2 separate regions of the Homo sapiens genome follow, and region 1 is linked to region 2. Evidence: promoter capture Hi-C in 16 types of primary human blood cells and fetal thymus (Javierre and others, 2016). All regions are on one chromosome and are shown on one strand. Each heading gives the region's core, a stretch centred on a gene start or on the middle of the fragment in contact. The rest is flanking DNA. Distances are from core to core; before and after follow the strand shown.

Region 1 (7,631 bases), core at 4,218-6,717, 2.8 Mb before region 2:
GGTGGCGCACGCCTGTAGTTCTAGCTGCGTGGGGGGTGCTGAGGTAGGAGGATCGCTTGGACCTTGGGAGGCTGAGGCTGCGGTGAGCTGAGATAACACCATTGCACTCCAGGACAGGTGATGAAATGCGATCGTTTCAAAAAAACAAACCAAAAGCAAAAAAGAGACTGGATAGGATAAAAGGATGTAATAATAAAATTGAGATTTGTAACTCAAGAACTAAAATTAGGAACAAATTAAATGACAATCTGTAACACTAATGTTTGGGGAAGTGTTGTACTATTCTCTCCAGCAAAGTGGTTAACAGCATGTAATGACATAGTATGAACCCTCTTTGAGAAGAGTGAAAATTATATAGGGTTAGCTCCCTATAATACTTAGTGAATCTTTAGGTCATCTCCCAGTTAAAGATAAAAGAAATGCTCAATTTTATGTATATTGTGCTTAACAGTCTATTACTCTTTCCATTAGGATAACTTAAGGATCGATGAATCTTTTTCTAGATTTAGGTTTAGTTAAACCTGGAAATCAGTATCTATTTTAACTGAAAACTCTATTTGCTAAACATCACTGAGACTCAGTACAGTATTTCCTGGTTAGTAAATGATGTAGACTGATTTAATGATTAATTGCTTTAATGTTTACTGAACATCTACATGTCCCCACTTCCTCAAATTCTCCATATCTCATATATTGATTTGGCTAATGGGGGTGAGAGAGCAAGTAACTATTTTCTGACAGATAATTCTGTTGTCCTTTGAGAGGCTTGGGAAATGATTAGGATCAGTATGGAAGGGCTTTTCACGTTACAAACTATTTTTAGAGTTTTCATTTAATTCACATAAAAACAATAAGTATCACACTGTACATATAATAGTCCCTTTTCACTGAGCAAGATGGAATTAGCACTTTAAAATGACATTGGCATATAATGAGACCTCATCTCTATTTTAAAAGAAAAAAATATATATTAAATAAAAAGGAAAAAAAAAGGCCAGGCACAGTGGCTCACACCTGTTACCCCAGCACTCTAGGAGGCTCAGGCAGGGGGACTGCTTGAGCCCATGAGTTCGAGACTGCCTGGGCAATACAGTGAGACTTCATCTCTATTTTAAAAGAAAAAACATATATTTTTAAAAAATGACATTGGCATATAACTTTAAACTACTTCATTTCTTTCACTTAATAGTGAAAAATCTCCAGTACATTGGATGTATTCTATTGCCTGCATAACCTCTTCTCAGGGCAAGACACATTAGACCTTACTATACCTTACTAGCAAAGCTCATTGCTAGTTTTACAAAAAAAAAAATAGTTTTCAAATTTTATATTTGATATGGTAGTTAGCGAGGTAATGTGTTATTTATTTTGTTTATAAACTCTTGCAGAGCTTTTACTTACAATCAAACATATTTTGGGGATACAATTTAAATTTAGCACTTTTTTTCTTCTTAGTTCCTCTGTGGTTTTTTACAAAATGAAAATTAGAGCAGGGCACGGTGGCTCATGCCTGTAATCCCAGCACTTTGGGAGGCCGAGGCAGGTGGATCACCTGAGGTCAGGAGTTTGAGACCAGTCTGGCCAACATGGTGAAACCCTGTCTCTACTAAAAATACAAAAAATTAGGCTGGTGTGGTGGCAGGCGCCTGTAATCCCAGCTACTCGGGAGGCTGAGGCAGAAGAATCACTTGAACCTGGGAGGCGGAGGTTGCAGTGAGCCAAGATCATGCCATTGCACTCCCACCTAGGCAACAAGAGCTAAACTCCGTCTCAAAAAAAAAAAAAGAAAGAAAGAAAATTAGCATTACTGTTCTTTTCTAATAAATATAGTATAGTATAACCTTACTTTTTAAAGTTAGCAAATATAGAAACAAGGAAAAGAGAGCTAAAATCTTTTGGGTGTAACAAAAATGTGATCATGATACACATGCTGTTTTGTAATCCCTCTTGCAAAGAATATAAATCTCCATTATCATTTTTAAGAGCTATACAGCATTTGATTATAATGGCGATATCCTAATTTGACCAATCTGTGATTGAAAGAAATTTGAGATTTTTCAATGCTTTATTGCAAAATATGCTATGGCAATAAATATTTGTGTAAATACTCCAGAGTCCATGCTCAAAGCCTCTATGTGCTGCTTTTCAGAATTAACAAATTTCTTAAAAATTAACTCATTTTTCAAATGAACTTGACAAGAAAGTTTTTAAAACCTTGACTTTTAGAAAGGTTCATGATACTGAGAAGCAGACAGACTGGGAGATCCAATTTGTGAAACAAACTTAAGCTATTTACAGTTTGCCTTGAGATGGTCCTTCCCTCAAAACACTTGGCAAGTTGTTCCAAGAGGCATGGACTGTCTTGTAGAGATTCTGAGTCTAAAACAAAGATTTCTCAAGAATAAGCTCAAAATGATCAGATTTGATGAGCAGTAACTGGTTAATCCCTAAAATAAGTTAGTGTTTGATGCTCATTTATTGAACTTTTCAAGTTTGGAGCAAAGCAACAAGAGAAATGAGATTTTTTCCCTTCCTTACCCTCTAATGTACTTGCCACTGCCCTTTCTTTCTTTCCTGAATCTTCTTTAAACATATTTCTAAAAAAAGACTCCTTTAGAAGGATAGAGAAATCAAGAGACATGAAATGAGATTAGTAAATTTTAGATCAAGTAAAATAGAGTTGATATTTATAGTTTCATTTACTAAAATGTCTTTTGTTAAGTTTAGAAAAAGTTTAGAGGCAATCTTAATGTGGATTATGCTTTTCATATTCTTCTCTCAAAAGTATGGTCTTAAATTATTCAAAAGTTTCATATTTTTCATTTTGTTTTGCTTTCATAGCAACTTTATGAGATCATTTTATAAATGAAGAAACATTAAATGATTGATTCTAAGATTACTGTCAGTTAACTGTGGCATTCAATTTAGATGTGAAGTCTTTAAAGTCTTGCCTAGTACTCTACTAAGCAATTCTTCAAGTCAAGAATTAGTGCCCCAGCTTGGGCAGTACTGTCTATCAGGATTTCCAGTGTGTGATCACGGATGAGGGGAACATTTGGAGGGCGTGAGGCACACCCTTGAGGATCACTGAGGTCAACTAGCTTGGGGCATCATGCCTGGCATGTTGTTCTTTTTTCTTTTTTTGGGACAGTCTCACTCTGTTGCCCAAGGGGGAGCGTAGTGGTGTGATCTCGGCTCACCTCCGCATGCCAGATTTAAGGGATTCTCGTACCTCAGCCTCCCAGGTAGCTGAGATTACAGGCCCACGCCACCATGCCCGACTAATTTTTGTATTTTAGTAGAGACGGGGTTTCACCATGTTGCCCAGGCTGGTCTCAACTCCTGGCCTCAAGTGATATGTCCGCCTCAGCCTCCCAAAGTGCTGGGATTACAGGCATGAGCCATGCACGCCCCGTGGCATGTCCTTGGCTGATTTTCATGTCAGGTATATAAAAGGTTAACAGCTGTCATTTCACTTGTCCAAAATTAGAGGGCATCTTACAGTTCTGGAGGTAAGAAAAACAAAAAAATTAGAGGGCAAAAGAGTCTATATCCTCCAAAAACACATCCGTGACCTACTAATGGTTGAGATTAGCTGGGTTAGTTCAGTTTTCTTTAATTTAGTTCTCAGTATAGAATGACAGCAAGAGATTAATGAACAGAAGAGGGAGAACTTGCTATGCTTCTACCTCATTATAAATACTGTAATCTTTTAGAGTAGCTTAAAGGCCAAGAAAAGAAAACACTGACACACACACACACACACACACACACACACACACACACACACACACACACAAAGTAAGGTTAAGGGCAAAAAGGCAAGCAAGCTTCCTAGAACTTCCCAAACAGCTGGATCTAGCCATCAGATTATTCTATCTAGCATAGTATTAGTTAAAGCCATCAAGTTTTTTTAATTGCTTCCTGCAAAATTAGGCCTAAAATAACTTGGATGCAGGGAATGTTACATCAAATGTTCTCATTTTGCCTATTGGGCTTGCTGGGCGCCATCTGCTGGCCTTTTGGACACAGTGTAAAACGGATTCTTTTTGGTCTTAATTGCTGTTGTGATTTGAAAAAATTGTAATTTTTAAAAACTTCCACTGAATGTAATTTAATCATGAGAAGAACATTAGATAGAATATTAAAAACCAATTAACCCAGCTCTTGTGATAATGAAACTTTATGAAGTTTACTGGAATTGTACTATGCCTTTTCTTTTACAATGACAATGTTGGCTTTAGGTATTTGTGAATTCTTCATTTCTGAATTCTCATCATCAACATTCAAAAGTTATTTTTTATCCTCAATTTTTAATACAGCAGTTTGAATTGTGGCATTTTTTCTGTGTACACAATAGAAAAGACTGCACGTGGTCTTCAACTGTGCTATGAAATGAACTGACATGGTAAACAGAACAATCGTTTTCCTTTTTCTTTTCCAACTATATCACCTAAAATAACACTCATTTTGCTGGACTTCTCCAGTCTTGTAAAAACACACACCCCAAAAACAATACTGTAATTCTTAATGAACCCATGGATCATAATTGAGTTCTAAAGTTTCCATTCTGCAAATCCTACCACCTTCCCCACCAAACCATTCAAGGTCAGCTTGACCTATATCCAAGAGCTGGGCTGCTAACAGCGTAACTGAGTCAGGAGTGGATCTGCAGTCAGAAGGCCGAAACAGGTATGCGTAAGTATCTTATGTCTTTTGCTATTCCTCCCTGCTCATTGCTGTGAATTTAATGTATTTGTAAATAAAAAATATACTGAAAGCATCATAAGTCTTATATGGGGGTTTCACTAATTGTAGGCAGTCTCAAATATTAAGCAAGTGATTAACAACTAATGAGAAGTGAAAACTAGCTTACCAGCAAGCTGTGGTTTATCACAATGGTTGTAGTGGTTTATAGAGTTGTCTGAGAATCCTGTCCCCTTTCACTGTTTTTACACCCTGGCTGCCATTTGATGCTGGTGATTGGTGGAGGAGAGGGGAGTAGGTATCATGCAGATAGCCAGATTGTTCCAGATCAGATACCTAGATGAATGGGCCTTTAGTGCTACAGCAAACACTTTATGTTCCTGGTATGTTCTGAATCCCTAAAGAGCCCATTTCTACCCTTCATCATTTTCAAGATTTTAATTGTATGCTCCACCTTCATTTCTGCAGATAACCTATTGGCCAGAGGACATTATAGCTCTTTAGGTATGAACACCTCTAACTTGTTGTCCCCTTATGTGCACCTTAGCTCTCAACTAAATCTTCTTTCAGCTGGGCGCGGTGGCTCACGCCTCTAATTCCAGCACTCGGGGAGGCTGAGGAAGGTGGATCACTTGAGGTCAGGATTTTGAGACCAGTTTGGCCAAGATGGTGAAACCCCATTTCTACCAAAAATATGAAAAATTAGCTGGATGTGGTGGGTGCACCTGTAATCCCAGTTACCTGGGAGGCTGAAACAGGAGAATCGCTTGAATCCAGGAGGCAGAGGTTACATTACAGTGAGTCGAGATCGCGCCATTGCACTCCAGCCTAGGTGACAGAGCAAGACTCCGTCTCAATAAATAAATAAATAAATAAAACTCCTTGCCTGCTGTCAGAAGAACTGGTATTCCTATTACCTGTGTTCCAGTCCCACTTTCTACTGTGTCTTTGGGGTTCTAACTTCATTATCCCCTCTCATCTACCTCCAACCTTCCACTCTTAAGGGCCTTTCTCTTTTGCATAACTATGACTATTTTTCTCCACTGAAAAGAGTCAAAAACAAATTCCCTAAGGCAACTGCCCTTTACCATCTTCCTTCCCAGTACTACACAATCTCTTTCCTTTCAAATAATGCATCTTTTCCTAGTCACTTCCCATTCCATCTTCAAACCCAAGCAATCTGCTTTTGTTTCATTCTCCATGGAAAGTGTTCTGACCATAAAGATCACCAATCCTTCCCCTTACATAATCTCCCTGTAGCCTTTTGATGTGTTCTTGAGACTCCTAAGTACTCAGGACTCTATACTGTTCCTTCTTAGTCTCCTTTAATAGCCTGCTGGTTTCCATCCACCTATTCATCCTTATCAAAGATCTGTCTTTGGTAGTGTTTGTTTCCTGGGCGGTCTCATTCAATCCCCAAACTTCTATGATCATGCATCCACTCTGGCTCTCACACGTTCATCTCCAGCTTAGACCCACATAATAAACTGCTACTGTACACCTTTGAACTAACCGTCCCCACAAATAGTCTCAATTCATCTCATATAAAAATAAGTCCTCTTTCCCTCCCAAACTGCTGTTCCACCTGGATTTCCTGTTTCGTTAACAAAAAGCATCATCTACTAAGCCATTCAATTCAGAAATCTGGATATACTGGACTCTGCCCTTTTCCTCATGCTCCTCATCAACTCACTCAGCACATCCTGCCATTTGACATAAGTGTTTCTTTACATAATCCCTCCTCCCTAGGGTCACAGTCCAGACCCTCGCGCCCTCACATGACCTCCTTGCTTCAATTCCAGTAGTTCTCAAACTGTGGTCCTCTCAACAGTGCCATTAGCAACACTTGGGAATTTACTAGAAATGCAAATTATCAAGCTGCCCCTCCTGACCTACTGAGTCAGAAACTCTAGGGTGGGGTCCAGTAATCTGTGTTTTAATTAATTCTTTAGGTAATTCTGAAGCTAAAGTTTGAGACCCACTGTTCTAGTCTACATCCACTAATCCATTCTCTACACTTTTAATATAGCCATCTTGCAAAACAAAAAACAAAAAAACAAAAACAAAAACAAATCTGGTTGTATTCCTGCTTTGCTTAAAAGCCTTTAGTGACATTTTTGACTAGAGTGAAATCTAAATTTCTTAGTACAGCAGAAAGAAAAATCCACTAGGATCTAGATCCTGCCTACCAGTTTTCAGAAAGTCAAGCACTTTAAATCATTTTTGTAAGAATGCATTGTCATGTAGTGATTAAGGGATGAGCTGTGGACTCATACCACCTGGCTTTGAATCTTCACTTACCACTTTACAACTGGCTGTGTGGCCTTGGATTAGTCACTTAATCTCATTGTGCTTCAGTTCCATTGTGTGTACAATGTGAATAATAACATCCATATCATAAGCTTGCTGTGCAGTTATCACAATACTTGGCACTTTGTCTGGGCTCAGTAATTGTTAGCTATTATTATTTTGATTATGTCAAAAAGAAAAAAAACATTACTGGAATTAACCTGTAGTATAGCAAGAACTGGAGAGGATTAGAATTAATGCCCAAACTAAGGGAAGTGGTCCCCATAAAGGAAGGCCCACTTCTCTGGGCAGTTTCAGTTAGTTAGCTAAGAATAAAAATACCCAGTCTCAACAGAGAGGTTCAGAGGTCTTTGGGGTTTGACTAGGGTAGTGAATCTGGTAATTAGATTCTAGGATATTATAGGACAGATAACTGTCAAGCTTCTAAAGTGAGAGCCAGGAAAGCTGTGAAGGAAGTCAGAAAACTGATACAGAGCAAAGAAGCAAAGACGGTGAAAAATTTCATGTATGTTTCTCTAATAACAGTTAATAGAGCAGCCAAGTGATCAAATGTGAGAATCCTACAATGACTGAAACTTGGTCGACATTTTCAGACACGCTGTTGGTCTGAAACA
Region 2 (6,875 bases), core at 3,561-6,060:
CACAGCTATACCCATTCCTTCATGTATTTTCTATGACTGGTTTCCCACTGCAACACCAGAGTTGATTAATTGCCAAAGGGACCTTACAGCCCACAAAGACAAAAAATATTTAACATCTTGCCCTCTAAAGAAAAAGTTTGCCATCCCTCCAGCCTCAGAACATTGCCCCCTAGTTAGGGTAATGAAAGTTCCTGGAACAAACCACAAAAGTTTAATGGCTTCACACATTTTTTAAAAAAGTTTATTTCTCAATTACACAATAGCCCAGCCAGGGTGTTCTTGGGCAAACGTAGGGGTCAGGTAGGGACTCTGCTCCAGAGACCCAGACTGATCATTGCTCTAAGGTTACCCTGGGCAAAAACATCCAGCCAGCAGACAGGGGTAAAAAAGAAAAGATCATGAACAGGAAGTTTTTATGGGCTAGATCTGAAAGGGACACACATTAATCCACCCATATTCTATTGGCCAGAATTCAGTCACGAGCATAGGATACTGAGAAATGAAGTGTACTAGAATGCCCAGGAAGAAACAGGTTTTGGGGAACACAGAACAGCCTCCACCACAATCCCTAAATACTAATCATTCTCACACCCAGAAAACGTCTCTGGCTGTGACTTCTCAAATCTGTTTTAAAGCTCAGATTCAATATGCATGTGTTTAAAAAACATTGCTTAATTGAGCCCTTACCTTTTTGAGATGCATACTGAAATATGTACATATGAAATGACATATCATGAATTTGCTTAAAATAATCTGAAACGGAGGAAATTTTTGAAAATACTGAGAATGCAGGTAAGACAAGATTGGCCATAAGTTTTGTTGAAGCTGGCTTATGAGTAAGGATTTAGTATATTATTCTCTTTACTTTTGTATATATTAAAAACTTTCCATAGTAAAAAAAATTAAGGATTACATTGAAACTACTCTTTGCTATGTTGTACCACTCTTTGGCAAAATAAAATAAAAACAATAAAATCCTAGTCATAATAGGCCACAAGGTTCTCTGCAATGATAGTAACTACAGGTGTTCTGGCTTATTAATTTCTCTTACTTCCTTAAAATATTCCAGTCAAATAAGCCTGCCTGTAAGATAAATGGGACCAATAATGAAAGACAAAATCTACGTGAGAATAGTACAATCAAGAGGCAGAATGGTTATAAAAGTTAATGTCAGACACCTATAGTACAAGCACTCCTAGGAAAGGTAATCTATTACTTGGGGTATAAACAAATACCAGATTTGTTACATGCATTTTAAAAACACTAATTGAGAATTACTCTGTGCAAGGCATTGTCTCAAAGATTATACTTGTCAGGATGTATATACTATTATACCAGCTGCTGTGCAAACATCCCTACATCACAATGTCTATGAACAAAGTTTTATCTCACTTGCTCAAGGTTCAATGCAGATATTCCTGGTCCAATTTTTCTCTTTTGAGCAGTAACTCAATTTGAGTTCCTTTCACCTCAGAGTCCTTTGCCATGTAGAAAGGAAAGAGAGGGCTGGGCACGTTGGCTCATGCCTGTAATCCCAGCACTTTGGGAGGCCGAAGCGGGTGGATCATTTGAGGTCAGGAGTTTGAGACCAGCCTGGCCAATACGGTGAAAATCTCTCTCTACTAAAGAGTACAAAAATCAGCCAGGCGTGGGGGCAGGATTCTGTAATCCCAGCTACTCCGTAAGCTGAGGAAGGAGAATTGCTTGAACCTGGGAAGCAGAGGCTGCAGTGAGCTGAGATCGCACCACTACACTCCAGCCTGGGTGACAGAGTGACTCTGTCAAAAAAAAAAAAAGAATGAATGAATGAAAAAGAAAAAAAAAAGGAAAGAGAGAGTGTGTGCAGATAATCACTCAGGATGTTTTATGGTCAACCTGGAAGGAAAAAAGCTCTTCACAGCCCAAACCTAGATCCAAGTATACCTAGAAAATGTCTCATAGCCATGAACCCAGAAAGAAAACTAGATACTGGGATGGAGGTGGGGAGTGGGGCGATGCTCTGAAATGTTCTACCACAAAGGTGATCCCAATCAAGGTCTAGTGGGAAAACAGACATGCAAACAGACACAAGTGCCCCAAGTGTCATAAAATCAGTAATAACGATATGAATAGGGTGCTCTGGACGCTCTGCTGAAGGAGGTAGGATTTTAAACATTTTTATCAGCTATTGGTACAATTTCATAAATGTGCTTGAAACTTAATTGGTTTAGTCTATTAAATTTGTAATTGTTTTTCCACAAAAATTGTAAGCCCGTGTTCCCTAACTCAAAAACAGAGCCCTGCTGGCAAGCCTGGTTCGGCAACTGGAATCAGAGCGTGGGTGTTTATCAATACTCGTTATATGTGCTTACTGGAACATAAATTCACCTGGAATGGGGATCTCTCAGCGTGAAGGGATTTTAATAGGATTCATTCATACATTTGTTCAACATTTTATAAAGACATCTGTCCCCAAAATTCAATTTACAATTTTTACAACATTTTACAAAGACTTTGATCTCCAAATCTCCATTTACAAATTATTTTACAAGAATTTACATTCATTGCAAAGGTTTCTTTCCAGAGTTTTTTAAAGGTCATTTTTGCCTTGGGTCCAAAACTGTTACTTTTAGATGAGAGGAGAAGCAGCTGAGGTTTACATGTGGAGACTGTGTGTGATGAAAGGGCAGGACACAGCGGCCCCTGGATCCTAATTCAGACCAGCCTGCCTCTGGCAATAGGAAAGTCATTTGTTCCTGCGAGCCCGTATCATAATCTGGCACAACTGGAGGTTAGAACAATCCTTAAAACTCTTTGGCTGTGGGATTCTAGTTTGCCATCTTAATTTATACATTCTATTTCGGCGCTGATTCTCCAGCCCTTTCCCTTTTAAGTGATCCTAATTAGAAAACACACAGGAGGATCCTTCCAGGATTTAAAAGCTGCTGGGATCCCCTCTTTGATCTCCCATCTGAAATACGGACGGTTATTGTTTCGCGTTTCCCCCCACTCCCCCCGACCCGCACTCCAGTGACAATTATTGGCATTTTAGAGCCTAGAGATAGAAATAAGATGTCTGACAGGCCCGGCTGCCTAAAAATCCAAAGCAAGCACCCCTCCAAACATCTCCCCTCCTCCCTCGCACCGTTCCCCACCCAAAAAAAAATAATGAAAAGGAAAAAATATAGCAGACTCTATAAACAGCTGCCAATTTATTAATAAGATGCTGGAGTTAGTTAGAATTTTAAAGATGCTTCAGGCATCTTTAAGGAGGCAGCAAGCCCTTCCTCTCCCGGGCACAAATAAGCCCAACCAGCAGACCCTACCTTAACTACCGCTATTTAAATTCTGCAAAGTACCGCGGTGACCGGAGGAACCTTCGCAAAGGCGCAAGGGTTTGCCTTAATTTGGTTAATACTTGGTTGAGATGCCTTGCGAGAACTCGAAAGCAGTTGAATTAAGAATCTTAAATCTTTCTAGGACGCGGAGAAGGAAGGTAGGAAATTGGGGAGGGGGAAAGGGAGGCGTGCCGTCAAGAAAGAGTTGATTATTTATTTAATTTCATTCACCAAGGGAGAATTCGGAGGCTCCATCCCGGAGGCACTGGGGTCCGGGACGCGGGAAAGGCTTGGAAATGTGCGACGCGGCTGTGTGCGAACGCGTGGACTAGGTCTTGGCTCGCTGGGAGGGAAGGGCTGGGCCGGCGCTGGGGAGGAGGAAGGGAGGGAACGGGTAGGAGGAGGGGAAGCGCAGTATAAAAGTCCCGGCCGGACTGAGCGTCCGCTACTCCGAGTCACTTCGGTAAGGCGGGAGCCCGAGCAAGGTCAAGGAGGGAAGTGCGCGGTGCCACGGACCGACACAGTTCGCTCTAGCATCTGACGCTCGGACTCCGCGCCCTCAGCCGGATCCCAGAGCCCTTCCATTCGCCAACCGCCCACTGCAAGGCATGAGCCGCACGCGGGAGCCCGAGGCTGCAGCGCGGTCATGAGGCGGTGGCCCGGGATCGACAGCTGCGCGACGCCAGCCCCCAAATCCCCTCTGGGCGCGGCACCCCCGGGATGAGCCCCCCACAGAGGCAAGCCCACTAGAGCTGAGATTCACTCCGAGTTCCTGAGCGCCTGAGCCGCGGGCACTGCGTCTCTGCAGCTTCCAGCCAACACCTGCGCCCGTGACCAGACGAACGCCTAGAGAGTCGGACTCCCCTCCCTTCCCAGGCTCTACGGGGCGCCGCGGATCCGCGAACAGCCGTGCCCGGCTAGCGGGCGGCCCAGCAAGTGTCAAGACCCTTCGGAACGACACTTTGGCACTCCTCCTCTCCCCCGACTGCTTCAGGCAGGGGTCGCAGGCAGACGCATGGCTTGTCCGGCGCCCCCTCCGTTTTCCATCACTGCAACTCCAGCTCCAGTTTGCCAATAAAGGTTTCTAAAGCAGCCCAGGCACCACCCCACCCACCCACAGCCCCGAGCCTCAGTGTGCACAAGGGCTCTACCCGCGCCCGTCACAGCGACCTCGGCAGCGGGCACTTGGTACAGCCCGGCAGGCTGACGCTGCCGCCGAGGGCGCCCCGGCTACCGCCAAACCGTGACAACCTCGGTGTGCCCGGGGCCCCCATCTGGAACCGGCCCTCCCCGGGACTCCGAGTGCGGGGCGGCGCGGCAGGCGGCCCCGAGGAGCGCGGAGAGTAGTGGAGGTGGCTTGCCGGGTGAGTGGCTCGGGGCGGCGAGGGCGGGGGCGCCAAGCGTGGAGGTAACTCCCGGCCGCAGCTGAAGCCCTCCTACTCCTCCTCCTCCTCCTCCTCCTCCTCCTCCTCCTCCTCCTCCTTCTCCTTCTCCTCCTCCTCCTCCCCGCGCTTCTCTGGCGGCCGCTCCCGCTCCAGCTGCGGCGCCGCGGCCACATCTGGGGCGCCCATGTGCGCTCGGGGGCTCGGCTGCGCCCGCCCCGCCGCCGACCCCGCAGCCCCCTGCCAGCAGGGTGGCCTCCGGCCCGGCCCGGGTCCCGGGCTGTCCCGGGACCCAGTCTCCGTCTCCGCCGCCGCCGCCGCCAGGCAGCGCCGGGGCTTGCTCCGCAGCCGGCTTGGACACCCCCGGCCTCGCGGTGGCTCCGCCGTGGTGCGGCGGCGGCGGCGGCGGCGGCGCCGGCAGCTCCTGCTCCCCCGGCCCCGCACACCCCGCCGCGCCCAGCGCCAGCCCCGCGGGCCCGGGAAGCGGAGCCCTGGCGGGAGCCGAGGCGGGAGCCGCGCTGCCGGGCTCCCGGGCTCCTACTCCTCCTCCCCCGGCGTCACCGCCGCCGCCGCCGGCCGCCGCGCCGGGTCCTAAAGCCGCGCGTCTCAAAAGGATGGTGCGCCTGGCGGCCGAGCTGCTGCTGCTGCTGGGGCTGCTGCTGCTCACGCTGCACATCACCGTGCTGCGCGGCTCGGGAGCCGCCGACGGGCCCGACGCGGCCGCGGGCAACGCCAGCCAAGCCCAGCTGCAGGTGAGTGCGCCGCCGGAGAGGGCCGTGCGCGGCTGCGGGGACGGTTTGTGGGGCGGGGGTGCTGAGCTAGTGCCGGGTGGATGCAGGGAGGCAGGTCCCCTGCCCCACCTAAGAGCAACTGTTTTGGCAGTAGTTTTGCCCGGGCCACTTGACTTAGGCAGAGGCGGAGCGGGGGCACGTGCCTGGAGGCTGCACCCGGCTTCCAGGTCTGCGGGCTGCGCTCCTTCAGTTCTGTCTGTCACGGGTCAGGTGCGGGGTTGGTGGGGAGGTGGGAAGGAGCGAGGTTTGGGATGAGCAGAGGAAGTGTGGAGAATGTGCTTGCTTGGGGGTGCTACCAGTCTTTCGTTGCCCTTCGGAGGCTGAGTAATGTTACTCGAGGCTGGAGGGACGCAAGGAGACTTTATAGGATGATATCCCTGAAGTCTTTGGGAGAAAGAACTCCGGGAGTCTACCCCTTTAGGAAGCAATGCCAAAGGTCAGGACATAATTTCCCAAGGAGAATAGCCAGGCATCCCCTCCTCACCCTCAGGGTTCCCTTGCTTCCAGTGTTCCTCTTCCTCCGGGAGCCTCGCCTGAGGTTCCCCCCTCCCCCCTTGTGCCCCCTTGGTCATGGGGAAGGTGCAGAGTGAAGGCACCGGTAGTGATTTGGGCCAGGGTTACCTGGGGCTTTTAAACTTGTAGCAAAGTCTTTCTCCCAAGGATCTTCCCCGTTGAAGGTCGCTTTAGCAATGGGATTCTGTTTATCCATTTCAACTTCAGGGCAAGGAGAGGGCGTAGTGGACGGTCAGACATAATGTGAGTTCTGACTTAGGAATAGAATTGCCCAGCTAGGCATTTCCTGCCGCTATGTTAGCGCCTTTCCTTGAGTCTAGGGGTGGGACAACTGTAAACTTGGAGCATAGGCAAAAGCAAGCAGGGATTTTCCCAGGAGGCAGAGGGGATTCTCTGGCTCCTAAAATCTGCTCAAACCAGGCGCGGTGGCTCACGCCTGTGATCCCAGCACTTTAGCAGGCAGAGGCGGGTGGATCACCTCAGGCCAGGTGTTGGAGACTATCCTGGCCGACATGGTGAAACCCCGTCTCTACTAAAAATACAAAAATTAGCTGGGCGTGGTGGCGCACGCCTGTAGTCCCAGTTACTCGGGAGGCTGAGGCAGGAGAATTGCTTGAACCCGGGAGGTTGTAGTGAGCTGAGATCGCGCCACTGCACTCCAGCCTGGGCGACAGAGCGAGACTCCGTCTCAAAAAAAAAATAAAATAAAATAAAATAAAATAAAATAAATAAATAAATAAATAAAATGAAATAAGCATTATTCATTGTTCCCAAAGGCCTTTATATTCATTGTCTTTGATAATTCACTTTTTACATCTTTATACAATTTATTGCGAAAAACTTTACCGTAAAGAGAAAACTAATAAAACACT

The links. The method cuts DNA at HindIII sites, captures the fragments that hold promoters and counts their contacts. A CHiCAGO score of 5 or more calls a contact.
Region 1: a fragment that was not itself captured here is called in contact with the fragment with the promoter of ISM1 in region 2 in 1 of 17 cell types (total CD4 T cells); the score reaches 6.6 in total CD4 T cells.

What each region holds. Positions count from the first base shown.
Region 1 is chr20:10,423,282-10,430,912 of GRCh38, forward strand. All of the region lies in intron 1 of MKKS (MKKS centrosomal shuttling protein), which reads right to left. All of the region lies in intron 1 of LOC128706665, which reads right to left. The region is part of intron 1 of LOC128706666; the gene reads right to left. Among named protein-coding and RNA genes, the nearest start is that of MKKS, 7.1 kb to the right of the region's middle. RefSeq lists a silencer at 4,982-5,031. The HindIII fragment of the contact is 3,279 bases long and covers 3,829-7,107 here.
Region 2 is chr20:13,216,464-13,223,338 of GRCh38, forward strand. It overlaps ISM1 (isthmin 1), which reads left to right and starts at 4,811. Exons shown (of 6, transcript NM_080826.2): 1 at 4,811-5,451. The coding sequence starts at 5,314. It also overlaps a transcript of TASP1 not described here. RefSeq lists silencers at 4,594-4,713, 5,173-5,242. The HindIII fragment of the contact is 8,964 bases long and covers 1-6,875 here.